Linked DNA regions of Homo sapiens: region 1 is linked to region 2. Evidence: promoter capture Hi-C in 16 types of primary human blood cells and fetal thymus (Javierre and others, 2016). All regions are on one chromosome and are shown on one strand. Each heading gives the region's core, a stretch centred on a gene start or on the middle of the fragment in contact. The rest is flanking DNA. Distances are from core to core; before and after follow the strand shown. Region 1 overlaps LOC124904784 (a long non-coding RNA gene). Region 2 holds the start of ZNF551 (zinc finger protein 551).

Evidence for each region. The method cuts DNA at HindIII sites, captures the fragments that hold promoters and counts their contacts. A CHiCAGO score of 5 or more calls a contact.
Region 1: a fragment that was not itself captured here is called in contact with the fragment with the promoter of ZNF551 in region 2 in 1 of 17 cell types (monocytes); the score reaches 5.5 in monocytes.

What each region holds. Positions count from the first base shown.
Region 1 is chr19:58,162,715-58,169,421 of GRCh38, forward strand. The region is part of intron 1 of LOC124904784 (a long non-coding RNA gene); the gene reads left to right. Among named protein-coding and RNA genes, the nearest start is that of ZNF329, 15 kb to the left of the region's middle. The HindIII fragment of the contact is 1,212 bases long and covers 4,314-5,525 here.
Region 2 is chr19:57,678,125-57,684,704 of GRCh38, forward strand. It overlaps ZNF551 (zinc finger protein 551), which reads left to right and starts at 3,853. Exons shown (of 3, transcript NM_138347.5): 1 at 3,853-4,120. The coding sequence starts at 4,040. ZSCAN4 (zinc finger and SCAN domain containing 4) reads left to right here. Exons shown (of 5, transcript NM_152677.4): 5 at 42-1,028. The coding sequence ends at 781. RefSeq lists an enhancer at 3,545-4,168 and a silencer at 4,224-4,293. The HindIII fragment of the contact is 7,295 bases long and covers 1,546-6,580 here.

The sequences.
Region 1 (6,707 bases), core at 3,670-6,169, 490 kb after region 2:
ATTAGGAGTTTGGGCTTCACCCTGAAGGAGACAGGAAACCAGAAGGGGTGGAGTTAACCTCGGGAGTGACATGATCTAATTTGCACCATTAGAAGGGCACTGCCTGATGTGTGGGGGAAGATCTCCAGCAGGCATTTAGTCACAGGCTTTGGAAATTCAGAAGCTGAGGGTTAGTGATCTCGACTTGGAAGTCATCAACATAACAGTCGAATGGTGAGGGATACAAGTCACCTCAAACAATTGGCCAAGAAACAGTCACGGTGATGCCATGCTAGGTACTGTTGCCAAGGAAATTAGCAAACAGATTTGGAATCTGCCTTTATGTAGCAATCAGCATAGTGAATGTGGATGTTCTACAAAAAAGCATAAATATTTGAGAGCAATGAGAAGTCACTCGTTGAATTTAAGCAAGAGAATTAAATGATCTAGTTTACATTTTAAGAGAGACAGGGTCGGGAGAGGGGGGAGGGATAGCATTAGGAGATATACCTAATGTTAAATGACAAGTTAATGGGTGCAGCACACCAACGTGGCACATGTGTACATATGTAACTAACCTGCACGTTGTGCACATGTACCCTAAAACTTAAAGTATATATAAATAAAAATAATAAAAAAAATAAATAAATAAATAAAAGAGACAGGGTCTTGCTGTGTCACCCAGGCTGGTGTGCAGTGGTGCAATCATAGCTTGCTGCAACCTTGGAATCCTGGGCTCAAGAAATCCCCCCACCTCAGCCTTCCAAGTAGCCGAAATCATAAGTGCACACCACCACACCCGGCTAATTAAAAAAAAACTTTTTTTGTAGAGACGGGGGTCTCACTGTGTTGTCCAGGCTGGTCTCGAACTTCTGAACTCAAGTGATCTTCCTGCCTTGGCCTCCCAAAGTGCTGGTATTACAAGGGTGAGCCACCACACCTGGCCTGATTTCCATGTTTGAACGGTTGCACTGGTTGAGTGTTGGGATGGTGTCATGAACAGAAGAGGAGATGATGATGAAAGCACTACTGTGTAGTTCAGTCAAGAAGTGTCATGACTTGGAACCGGATGAGTCAATGGAAGTAAAAAGGGGATCATTTCAATGTATGTTTAAGGTGGGCTCAGAATTTGGTGATTGATTCAAAATGGAAGTGGAAGGGTCCATGGCTACTGGCATGAGCAACTGTGATGCAATCCATGGACAGGAGAAACCTGGGAGAAGAGGAGGTAGAGCATGAGAGTAGAACTCAGTACTGACAAGGTATGGTTGTAAAATGAATAGACACTCCCAGCAGGCAGTATGAATATGGTGAAATATGTCCATGCTCAGAAAAGAATCTGGAATGAAGCTACAAATTGTGATTCATCAATGTTCAGATGGTGTTTGAAGCCAGCAGAATAAAACAGACCATACTGGTGGATGAGAGAAGAGGGCTCAGGACAAGCCCCCAAAGCACTGGGGTCCAGAAGAGCATCTTGAAAACAGCGTGAGGAGACTGGGCGCGGTGGCTCACGCCTGTAATCCCAGCACTTTGGGACGCTGAGGCTGGTGGATCACGAGGTTGGGAGATCGAGACCATCCTGGCTAACATGGTGAAATCCCGTCTCTACTAAAAATACAAAAAATTAGCTGGGCATGGTGGCGGGCGCCTGTAGTCCCAGCTACTCAGGAGGCTGAGGCAGGAGAATGGCGTGAACCCAGGAGGCAGAGCTTGCAGTGAGCCAAGATCGTGCCACTGCACTCCAGCCTGGGCGACAGAGCGAGACTCCGTCTCAAAAGAAAAAAAAAAAAAAAGAAAGAAAGAAAAAGAAAAGAGAGTGAGAAATGACTACTAGCAGAGATTGATCTATTTTCCTATCAGCCACCTGGAGAGACTGGGCTTATTCTTATTTGCTCAGTCGCTCCTGGCAAGACAGATTTGGAAACAAATCAACATGCTTTCGATGTGCTTAATACCAGCATTTTCTCTCCAGCTCTTAAAATTATGGTTTTTTAATTGATTGAACAAGCCATAATTTATTCAGTGAACAACTGTAGGGGATGTACAAATGTATCTGGTTTTTTTTTTTTTTTGGATTGTGAAACTATCATCAAAAGCAAAGAGATAACCAGGAAGGAAGACATTTGTCTGAAAACCATATGCCAGGCCAGGCGTGGTGGCTCATGCCTGAAATCCGAGCACTTTGGGAGACTGAGGTGGGTGGATCACAAGGTCAGGAGTTTGAGACCAGCTTGGCCAACACGGTGAAACCCCGTCTCTACTAAAAAAAAAATACAAAAATTGGCTGGGCATGGTGGCGTGTACCTGTAATCCCAGCTACCTGGGAGGCTAAGGCAGGAGAATTGTTTGAACCCAGGAGGCAGAGGTTGCAGTAAGCCGAGACTGCGCCACTGCCCTCCAGCCTGGGTGACAGAGGACGACTCCGTCTCAAAACAAAACAAAACAAAATAAAAACAACAACAACAAAAATGCCATCCTGAAAGTGGAAAGATTCACAAAGAATGAGCTTCATTTCTTCACATTTGGAAGAAACCAGGACTGTAAGGTCCACTTAGAGAAGCAGAAGGAGGACCAGGAGAGATGAGTCAAACAAATGATGCTTGAGGAACACTGATTCAGGAATGAGGTTGCAAGAATAAGAAATGCACAGCTAATGTTAAGTAGAATTCAAGCCTTCTTCCACTAAACAATATTCTTTTTTGTTTTGTTTTGTTTTGTTTTTGAGACAGAGTCTTGCTCTGTCACCCAGGCTGGAGTGCAGTGGCAGGATCTCAGGTCACTGCGAGCTCTGCCTCCCGGGTTCATGCCATTCTCCTGCCTCAGCTTCCAGAGTAGCTGGGACTACAAGCGCGCGCCACCACACCCAGCTAATTTTTTGTATTTTTAGTAGAGACGGGGTTTCACCGTGTTAGTCAGGATGGTCTCGATCTCCTGACCTCATGATCCACCCTCCTTGGCCTCCCAAAGTGCTGCCATTACAGGCATGAGCCACCGCGCCTGGCCTTGTTTTTGTTTTTTGAGACAGAGTCTCATTCTGTCACCCAGGCTGGAGTGCAATGGCATGATCTTGGCTCACTGCGACCTTCACCTCCTGGGTTCAAGCAATTCTCTGCCTCGGCCTCTCAAGTAGCTGGGATTCAGGCACCCGCCACCACACCTGGCTAATTTTTGTATTTTTAGTAGAGACAGGGGTGTCGCCATCTTGGCCAGGCTGGTCTTGAACTCCTGACCTTGTGATCCACCCACGTTGGCCTCTCAAAATGTTGGGACTACAGGCGTGAGCCACCGTGCCTGGCCCACTAAACAATATTCTTATCAATGAATACCACTACATACATGACTCATTGTAAAACAACATTCAGATTTAATAAACCATAAATGCACAGGGAAAAACCCCTGAAAATTATGATTTTGGGAATGCTTTTGGTCAAAACACTCAACTTCTTAGACTTGCAAACAGTTCAGTGTAGAAAAGCCTTATATATGAAATATACGTAGTAAATTTTTTAAGTGTAGCACAAGTCTCAGTCAATGTAAGCGAATTCATGTTAGAGAGAGTTGAGTTGAATGTAAGGAATGTGGAAAAGTGTATTCAGAGCTCCTCTCATCTTTGTTTTGAGAGCACTCACACAGTTGACAAACCCTCCAGATGTTCTGAATGTGAGAAATCCCTGTTTATGGTAAATACTTTCTGACATCAGAGAAGTCATACTGGAGAGAGACCATATAAATGTAGTATGTGTAAAGAAGTCTTTAAACAGAGCTCAACCCCACTGATGTATGAGCAAACTCTCTCAGGAAATAGACCTTACAAATGTGTTGAGTGTTGGAGAGTCTTTATTAAGAAATATTTCTTTCAGTATGTTTCAGAACTTATACAGGAGAACAATACTATAAATGTAATCGCTGTAGCAAAGGCTGTAGACACAAATTATACCTTATTCAATATGAGACAATTTATACTTGTGGGAAATTATATATTTGCAGTGAATTTAGGAAATTCTTCTAAAGAAGTGAACACTTTTACCCTATAGCTAAGAATCTATAGAGACACCTTATGAAGGGAATCATTCAGGGAAAGGTTTTACACTTTGCTCCTCCACTACTCAAAAATCACAGAAGACACACTGGAGAGCAAAGTGATGGATACAGTCATCGTGGGAAAGGCTTCAGACGTAGCCTAGCCCTTATGATGTGACATCAGAGGACTCATACTGAGGAAAACCCCATACATGTAATTTGCGTGGAAGAGCATTCAGGAGTTGTTCTCATATTATTGAACGTAAGAGGACTCATACTGGAGAACACTATGAATGCAGTCAGTATTGGCAAGCTTTCAACCATGGCTTTTACCTTATTTGACACCAGGAAATTCAAACAAATTAGAAAAACTCATTGAAAAAAGATCAATGTGGAAAAGCTATTGGTTGGAATTCCATTTTATTTGACATCAGGGATAAAGGAGGCAAAAGCCACCAGTTATTTTTTAACTCTTAAGTATCTGAATGTAACAAGACTGCAAACTTGTGACTCCCTGCAGCCACAGATCAGCAGGGATAAGCAGTTCTATTCTACATATGTCCCTAATTTGCCATAGAAACACCATTTAATGGGGACTCAGGGTCTAGGCCTGATGAACAATGTCTCATAGAAATGTCTGGCCATATGCGGCTGGGCACAGTGGCTCACGCCTGTAATCCCAGCACTTTGGGAGTCCGAGGCGGGTGGATCACGAGGTCAGGAGATCAAGACCATCCTGGCTAGCACCGTGAAACCCCGTCTCTACTAAAAATACAAAAAAAAAAAATTAGCTGGGTGTGGTGGTGGGCGCCTGGAGTCCCAGCTACTCAGGAGGCTGAGGCAGGAGAATGGTGTGAACCCAGGAGGCAGAGCTTGCTGTAAGCCGAGATCGTGCCACTGCACTCCAGCCTGGGTGACAGAGCAAGACTCCGTCTCAAAAAAAACAAGAAAAAAAGAAAAAGAAAAAGAAATGTCTCCCATATGCCTGTAATCCCAGCTACACAGGAGGCTGAGGCAGGAGAATAGCTGAACCCAGGAGGTGGAGGTTGCAGTGAACCAAGATCACACCACTGCCCTCCAGCCCGGGCAACAGAGCAAAACTCCATCTCAAAAAAAAAAAAAAAAATGGTTGCCATAGATAATCATGGCTGGGCACAGAGGCTCACACCTGTAATCCCAGCACTTTTGGAGGGCAAGGCAGGTGGATCACTTGAGCTCAGGAGTCCAAGACCAGCCTGTGCAACATGGAGAAACCCCGTCTCTAATAAAAATACAAAAATTAGCTGTGCGTGGTGGTGCATTCCTGTAGTCCCAGCTACTTGGGAAGTGAGGACTGCTTGAGGGGGTCAAGGCTACAGTGAGCTGAGATGGTACCACTGCACTCCAGCCTGGGTGACTAAACGAGACCCTGTCTAAAAGAAAAGAAAAGAAGAGAAATGGTTGTCATAGGTAATCACATGTAAATTTTTTTTTTTTTAAAGAGTGAGCAACAGTAAGATTTATTGCAAAGAGCGAAAGAACAAAGCTTCCACAGTGTGGAAGGGGACCCAAGCGGGTTGCCCATAAATGTTATCAGTGGCAACAGCGTATCTGTTTTTCTACATCACGTATGAATAAAAGAACCGTCAACCTTGAAGAATGGTGCAGGAATCATATGGCAACAGCGTATCTATTTTTCTACATCACGTATGAATAAAAGAACCGTCAACCTTGAAGAATGGTGCAGGAATCATACACCTTTTAGCATCATGGGGATCCTTATGTGTATAATTTTATGATAGTCCTAGATGAGGGCTGAAGGATATGCTATCAATTTTTTTCTGCATAATCCAAATATTATCACTCCAAACAAATCAGAGAGCTTTATACTAACTTGCTAATACTTTGCCAATAGCATTCTTCTATCTACTTGAATAGAAGCATCATAAAGAGTTGTATGTTGGCCAGGCACGGTGACTCACACCTGTAATCCCAGCATTTTGGGAGGCCGAGGCAGGAGGATCACCTGAGGTCAGGAGTTTGAGACAAGCCTGGCCAACATGGTGAAACCCTGTCTCTAGTAAAAATAGAAAAATTAGCTGAGTGTGGTGGCACATGCCTGTAATCCCAGCTACTTGGGAGGCTAAGGCAGGAGAATCAGTTGATCCCGGGAGGTAGAGGTTGCAGTGAGCCAAGGTTGTGCCATTGCACTCCAGCCTGGGTGACAAGAGCAAAACTCCATCTCAAAAAAATAAAAAAAATGAGTTGTACGTATCTTCACATTTCTAAGGGCATGTCCAATGTCTTGGCAGGGTTAAAAAGACATCATAGTCTGGTGAAGTACCCATACTCCAAAACTAGTGCAAACTTCACAAGTTTCATTGCAAATCCCTTACAAAGAGCACAGGGTATGTATAAGCAGCATTGGTTTCTCTTCTGAAACCCTGGACACTAGAAGATAAGTGAAGATTCCAGAAACACAAAGACTCTGATTTCAGGATTTGATGCTCAGCAAATATATCATTCACACATATGAGGAGAGAGTAAGCATTTTCAGACCTGTTAGCATTCAAAATTTGTATTCTTTCTGGAAAAACTGCCCAAGAGAACATAATAGTAATTTCTTACAATGGAAGTATGAGCCATGTCCCCAAAAGACATCTAAAAGGACACTCATAGAAGCATTAGTCATAAGGGGCCAAAACTGGATACAGCCCAGCAGTCCA
Region 2 (6,580 bases), core at 2,603-5,102:
CCCTTCTTAAGTACAACTTCATTGAGTGTCTATTTTCACAGGATATGAAGATGAACAAGATGGCTGGAACAGTTCTTCGAAAACTACTCGAGTAAATGAAAATATTACTAATCAAGGCAATCAAATAGTTTCCCTAATCATCATCCAGGAAGAGAACGGTCCTAGGCCTGAAGAGGGAGGTGTTTCTTCTGACAACCCATACAACTCAAAAAGAGCAGAGCTAGTCACTGCTAGATCTCAGGAAGGGTCCATAAATGGAATCACTTTCCAAGGTGTCCCTATGGTGATGGGAGCAGGGTGTATCTCTCAACCAGAGCAGTCCTCCCCTGAGTCTGCCCTTACCCACCAGAGCAATGAGGGAAATTCCACATGTGAGGTACATCAGAAAGGATCCCATGGAGTCCAAAAATCATACAAATGTGAAGAATGCCCCAAGGTCTTTAAGTATCTCTGTCACTTATTAGCTCACCAGAGAAGACACAGGAATGAGAGGCCATTTGTTTGTCCCGAGTGTCAAAAAGGCTTCTTCCAGATATCAGACCTACGGGTGCATCAGATAATTCACACAGGAAAGAAGCCTTTCACATGCAGCATGTGTAAAAAGTCCTTCAGCCACAAAACCAACCTGCGGTCTCATGAGAGAATCCACACAGGAGAAAAGCCTTATACATGTCCCTTTTGTAAGACAAGCTACCGCCAGTCATCCACATACCACCGCCATATGAGGACTCATGAGAAAATTACCCTGCCAAGTGTTCCCTCCACACCAGAAGCTTCCTAAGCTGCTGGTCTGATAATGTGTATAAATATGTATGCAAGTATGTATATTCCTATAGTATTTATCTACTTAGGATATAAGATATAATCTCCTGATTATGCTTTCAATTTATTGTCTTGCTTCATTAAAATGTAAGGCTAAGGAGAGCATGGAATTTGTCAGTTTTGTTCACTAAAGTATTCCAAGTGGTTGGGAAAGTGGAACATTTCCAAGAACCAATAAATTTCTGTTGAATAAATGAATGAATCCATAATGTTGATATCCTTTTTTAAAAAAAGAGATGGGGCCGGCCGCAGTGGTTCGGCCTCCCAAAGTGCTGGGATTACAAGCGTGAGTGACCGTGCCCGGCTTTTTTTTTTTTTTCTGAGTCAGAGTCTTGATCTGTCGCTCAGACTGGAGTGCCGTGGTGTGATCTTGGCTCACTGCAACCTCCACTTGGAGGTCCAAAATTAATCATAGACACCAAACCACAGATCCAGAAATCTCAGAGAAGAGGAAGCAGTGTAAATACCAAAAACCTACAACTAGGTACATCATATTCAAACTACAGAAGGCCAAAGATAGAGAAATTCTTGAAAGAAGATGGAGGTGGGAGAGGGCACTTTACCTGCTGAGGAACAAGGATGAGATTTAGAGTAGAATTCTTGTCAGAAACCAGATAATCAAGAAGGGAATGGAGTGAAAGTTCAAAATTTAGTACAAAAAATAAAACCCCACCCTAACATCTATATCCAGCAATGTTATCTTTCAAAGGTGGAGGAGAATAAAGCTTTTCTCACACAAATACTAAAGAATTCATCCCCAAAGGTCCTGTTACAGGGTCCCTGCATTACATGTGAAGCAATCCAGTAGTTATTTGAAGGTCGAATTAGATTAAAGATGTTTAGGCTGGGCACAGTGTCTCATGCCTGTAATCCCAGCACTTTGTCAGGCTGAGGCGGGCAGATCACTTGAGTCCAGGAGTTTGAGACCAGCCTGAGCACCAAGGCAAAACCTCATCTGTACAAAAAATACAAAAAAACAATTAGCTAGGTTTGGCGACATGCGCCTGTAATCCCAGCTATTTGGGAGGCTGAGATGAGAGGATCACTTGAACCTGGGAGGCAGAGGTTGCAGTGAGCTGAGAACAGACCACCGCACTCCAGCCTGGGTGACAGGCTCAAAAAAATTTTAAAAAGATGTTTATTGTAACTTCTAAGGGAGGAATTAATATTTTTTTTTTTTTTTGCTGGCAACTTTGATTAATTTAAACATACAAAAATTAGCTGGGCATGGTGGTGTATGCTTGTAACCCCAGCTACTCAGGAGGCTGAGGCAGGAGAATCGCTTGAACCCGGGAGGCAGAGGTTGCAGTGAGCTGAGATCGCGCCACTGCACTCCACCCTGGGAGACAGAGCAAGACACTGTCTCAAGAACAAAAACAAAAAAGCCCAGGCGCAGTGGCTCACCTGAGGTCAGGAGTTCAAGACCAGCCTGGCCAACATGGTAAAACCCTCGCTCTACTGAAAATACAGAAATTAGCCGGGCATGGTGCTGGCGCCTGTAGTGCCAGCCACTTGGGAGGCTGAGGCAGAAGAATTGCTTGAACCTGGGAGGTGGAACTTGTGGTGAGCCAAGATCAAGCCATTGCACTCTAGCCTGGGCAACAGAGTGAGACTCCGTCTGGGAAAAAAAAAAAAAAAAAGAACTGATAAACAAATTCACCTGTGTAGCTGAATTCAAAGTCAACATGCAAAAGTCAACATGTAAAACTCATATGCCCTTCCATACACTAACAATGAAAAATCTGAAAAGGAAATTAAGAAAACAATATCATTTGCAATAGTAATGTATATGGTCAAATGATCTCAACAAGGCTACCAAGACCACTCAATGGGGAAACGATGATCTTTTCAGCAAATGATGCTGGGAAAATGAAATATTCACATGCTAAGGAATGAAGGTGAACCCTTACCTAACACCAAAAACACAAATGAACTCAAAATGGACTAAAAACCTAAACATAAGACCCAAAACTATAAAACACTTAAAAGAAAATATAGGGTGAAAGTTTTATGACATTGAATTTGGCCATAATTTCTTGGATTTGACACCAAATACACATGTGACAAAAGAAAAATAGACCAATTAGACTTCATGAAAATTAAAACTTTAGTATATCAAACAATAACAAAGTGAAAGAGGAACCTATTTAATGAGAACAAAATACAGGTTGAATATCCCTGAGCCAAAAATCTAAAATCCAAAATGCTCCAAAATCCAAATTTTTTTTTTCTTTTTTTTTTTTTGGAGACGGAGTCTCCCCCTGTCGCCCAGGCTGGAGTGCAATGGCGTGATCTCGACTCACTGCAACCTCTGCCTCCCAGGTTCAAACGATTCTCCTGCCTCAGCCTCCCAAGTACTGGGATTACAGGCGCTCGCCACCATGCCCGGCTAATTTTTGTATTTTTAGTAGAGACAGGGTTTCACCATGTTGGCCAGGCTGGTCTCGAACTCCTGATCGCGTGATCCACCCACCTTGGCCTCCCAAAGTGCTGGGATTACAGGCGTGAACCACTGCGCCCGGCCCGCCCGACTAATTTTTGTATTTTTAGTAGAGATGGGGTTCCGCCATGTTGGCCAGCCTGGTCTCGAACTTCTGACCTCAGGTGATCCGCCCGCCTCGGCCTTCTAAAGTGCTGGGATTACAGGCGTGAGCCACCGCGCCCAACCCCCTGAAATAATATTTGTTTGCCTCTAGGGGCACCCTGAGCTTCGTGGAGTCTGAAATAATGTCTCTAAACACTTAAGTGATCAGTTACGGAAAACACTTCCCAGAAATCTGGGAAAAGCCCCTTTAAGAAGGAGTAAATACCTCCTTCTCCCCTAGAGGCCGAAGTCGCCATTTCCCTGCACGGGGCACAGCACCTCAGAATACAAGTTCGCAGAGGTCAAAGCAGTGGACACACTCCGAAGAGCTCCGTGGAGTTTTGGAAACTACATTATCCAGAGTGCAGAGCGCAAAACGGCGGCGGAGTTGAGCCAATGACAGCCCAGGATAGCAACACTTCCGCGCACGCGCAGCGCGACGGGCCGGAACTTCCGGCGTCCTCCTCGTGGCGGTCATTTTGGCCTCTGTCCTGTTTGTCCAGCCCGCCAGTTTCTGCAGTGGAGGTCGCGACTGAGGGACGGGACAGAGAAGTCGCGAAAGTGGGCCAGAGGTTCTGCGACACCACCTCGGGTGAGCTGCGCCAGGCCCGGGATAGGGACTGTTGTGTTCGAATGCCCGCCCCGGTCGGCCGCCGCTCCCCGCCTAGTCCACGGAGCTCAATGGCGGCAGTCGCGCTGAGGGACTCGGCTCAGGTGAGTTGTGCGTCCTCCGGGTCTCGCCTACCTCCCCCAGCAGAAGCCTTAAGGCCCAGTGAGGGATGCCTGCTCACAGCCCTGCAGCCCAGGCCCCAGTACCCTGGACAAGAAGGCGCTTGTGGATTGGACCCGTTTGTGACGCCCAGTGTGTACGGAAATGTGACGGGCAGTTGACTGGCGCGTGCAGAACTTGGAGCTGCGACTAAGCTGGGGGGGATTCAGGAGCCTGGGGTCCGTCTCGGGTCTGCAGGAACATAGAGTGAGGCAGAGTTGCACCTGACGAATTTGACGATTCTGAGGACACTGGCAGCCTTCGAGATTTGTGAACAGATAGGGACACTGGGCTAGGATTTCCTAAAGCTATCCAAAAGTTGCTCAGGGGAAGAACAGGCTGAAGAGAGGTAATAGTAGTTAGGCATAGGAAGACTGAGTTCTTGTCCAAGCTCACGCAGCTGGTAAAGTCAGCACTGAGAACTGAGGTGCGGAGATAGTGCAGCCAGCCCAGGCCACCTGGCTCCAAAACTGGACCAGGGTCATTGGGCGACCTGAGCCTCGCCACTCGTCTAGCCTTGGGCCCTGAGACTTTGAGCAAATACAAAGCCCAGAGTCTTAAGTCCAGGTTAGATTATATGAAGCTGTTGGCAGCCGGGGGAAAGGAGATGTAGAAGGTTGTCCAAGGCAAAGTTACCAGTATATGCTAAGTTTGGAGAGGAGGCTAAGATAGTTCAGGAACCTACAATTATTTTCTTTTCATGAGAACAGGGAGCAGTGTAGTAGAAGTCAGACCCGGAATGGTTCCCTGAGAAGTTGAGTTGTCTATTCGTTACTTAATAGTAACAGTGGGAGGTTTGGAGTGGAAGAGGGAGGTGATCTGGTTCTGGTCTTATTAGGCTCCCTGTGGCTGCAGCATGGGAAGCCAACTGAAGGATGAGGTGGGGAGACCTGGGAGGAGACTACTGGGATAGGCCAGGTGAATGTGATAGAATGTGATAGGCCAAAATGGTGGCTGTGAAGATGCGAGAAGCAGTTGGATTCTGGATTCATTTTTTAAGTAGGGCTGCCTGAATTTTTAGTTTTGAGAAAGAGAGTGGAGTCAGGGATGACTGAAAGGTTTTATTTTGGCAGTTAGAAGTGTGGAAGCTCCATCAACTAAGATGGGGAAGTACATAGTAGGAGTAGTTTTCATTTGGGATATCAGAAGTTTTATTTTTGACCTGCTAAGAGTATGAGAGCTTTCAGAGAATGGTTCATGGGCTGCTGGAACTGTAGGTCAGGAACAGTGAGGAGAGATTCAGAATGGAGACTTTTCCAAAAGGTAGTGGACAATCTGTGGGCCGGGGTGGAGCTGTGGATCACATTTAGTAGAGGGGAAGCCTGCTCACAATGATAATAATAGTTGTCAAGGAAGGGGAGGGGAAGGTCAAGGACAGGTCTCCTGTGTGAGCCCCTGGTTGTGTGAGGTGTTGCAACACAGGTCTTGGACAGAAGTGTTCACGGTGAGGGTCGTACAGAGATTATGATCTAGCATGTGGCCAAGGCTTCTCAGGGGTGAGTAGACATGAGATGAATGTAGAGGCATAGGAGTTAGACAGGATGATGCTAGGACTGGTGCGTATTCACCTCTCTGCAGACTGACCAGGGTTTTATATTAACTCTTGGTGGGATCTGGGAAGTTTCAGTCAGGCTGTCACGTTATCTTAGGGGCATAATTGGCCATCTGTGGGACTCGATGGGCCCGGGGTAGAGAGCCACTGGGGTTGGACCTTGAATTAGTGGTAGTTGGAGAGAGGAAGGCTGTGACTGGTTGGGGGACAGCAATCACAGCCCAGAAGTGGAAGAGGCCTTGGTTATCTGAGATCCACAGGTGATTCTTGATGGGTGAGGTTGAAGCAAGGAATAGTCAGGTAGAAAGGCCTTCATGGTATGACTTGAGGCTGCCCCTAACTTTAGGTGCAGTTAGAGATCTGGGATAGTACTGAACCGTATTTGAATTTGCCAGCCACTCTCTGGGCCCCATATGCTGAGTAACCAGTTGGGAGGCCAAGGAGATGCTCATGGTATGAGGCAGGAAGTAAGCTGTGGCTGTGGGAGTGACACTGTGAGAGAAGTGTGGTAGAGTATTGTGCACATGGAGACAAGAATGTGAAGTGGTGGCTCCTTGGTGTTGAGGACACAAGGGTGAAGTATGAACCAAGACCCTTGGTTGTGTTTGGGAGCCATGGTCTGTTGTCTTCCAGGAGAGTTTCCTTACAAGAGAGTATGGTTCCTTGCATGGCAGGCTCAGAGCTTAGATACTTGCCCACCTGCCTGTTGTTGCTGTGGGAGAACACAATGACCAATGGGACCATAAGGAGAGAGGGGGCATTAGTGTCACCAGGCCCTGTTGCATTCTTTCAAATGAGAAGATGGAGAGGAGGATGAACAGGGGATAGATGCAGCAGGGATGAATTTGGGGTC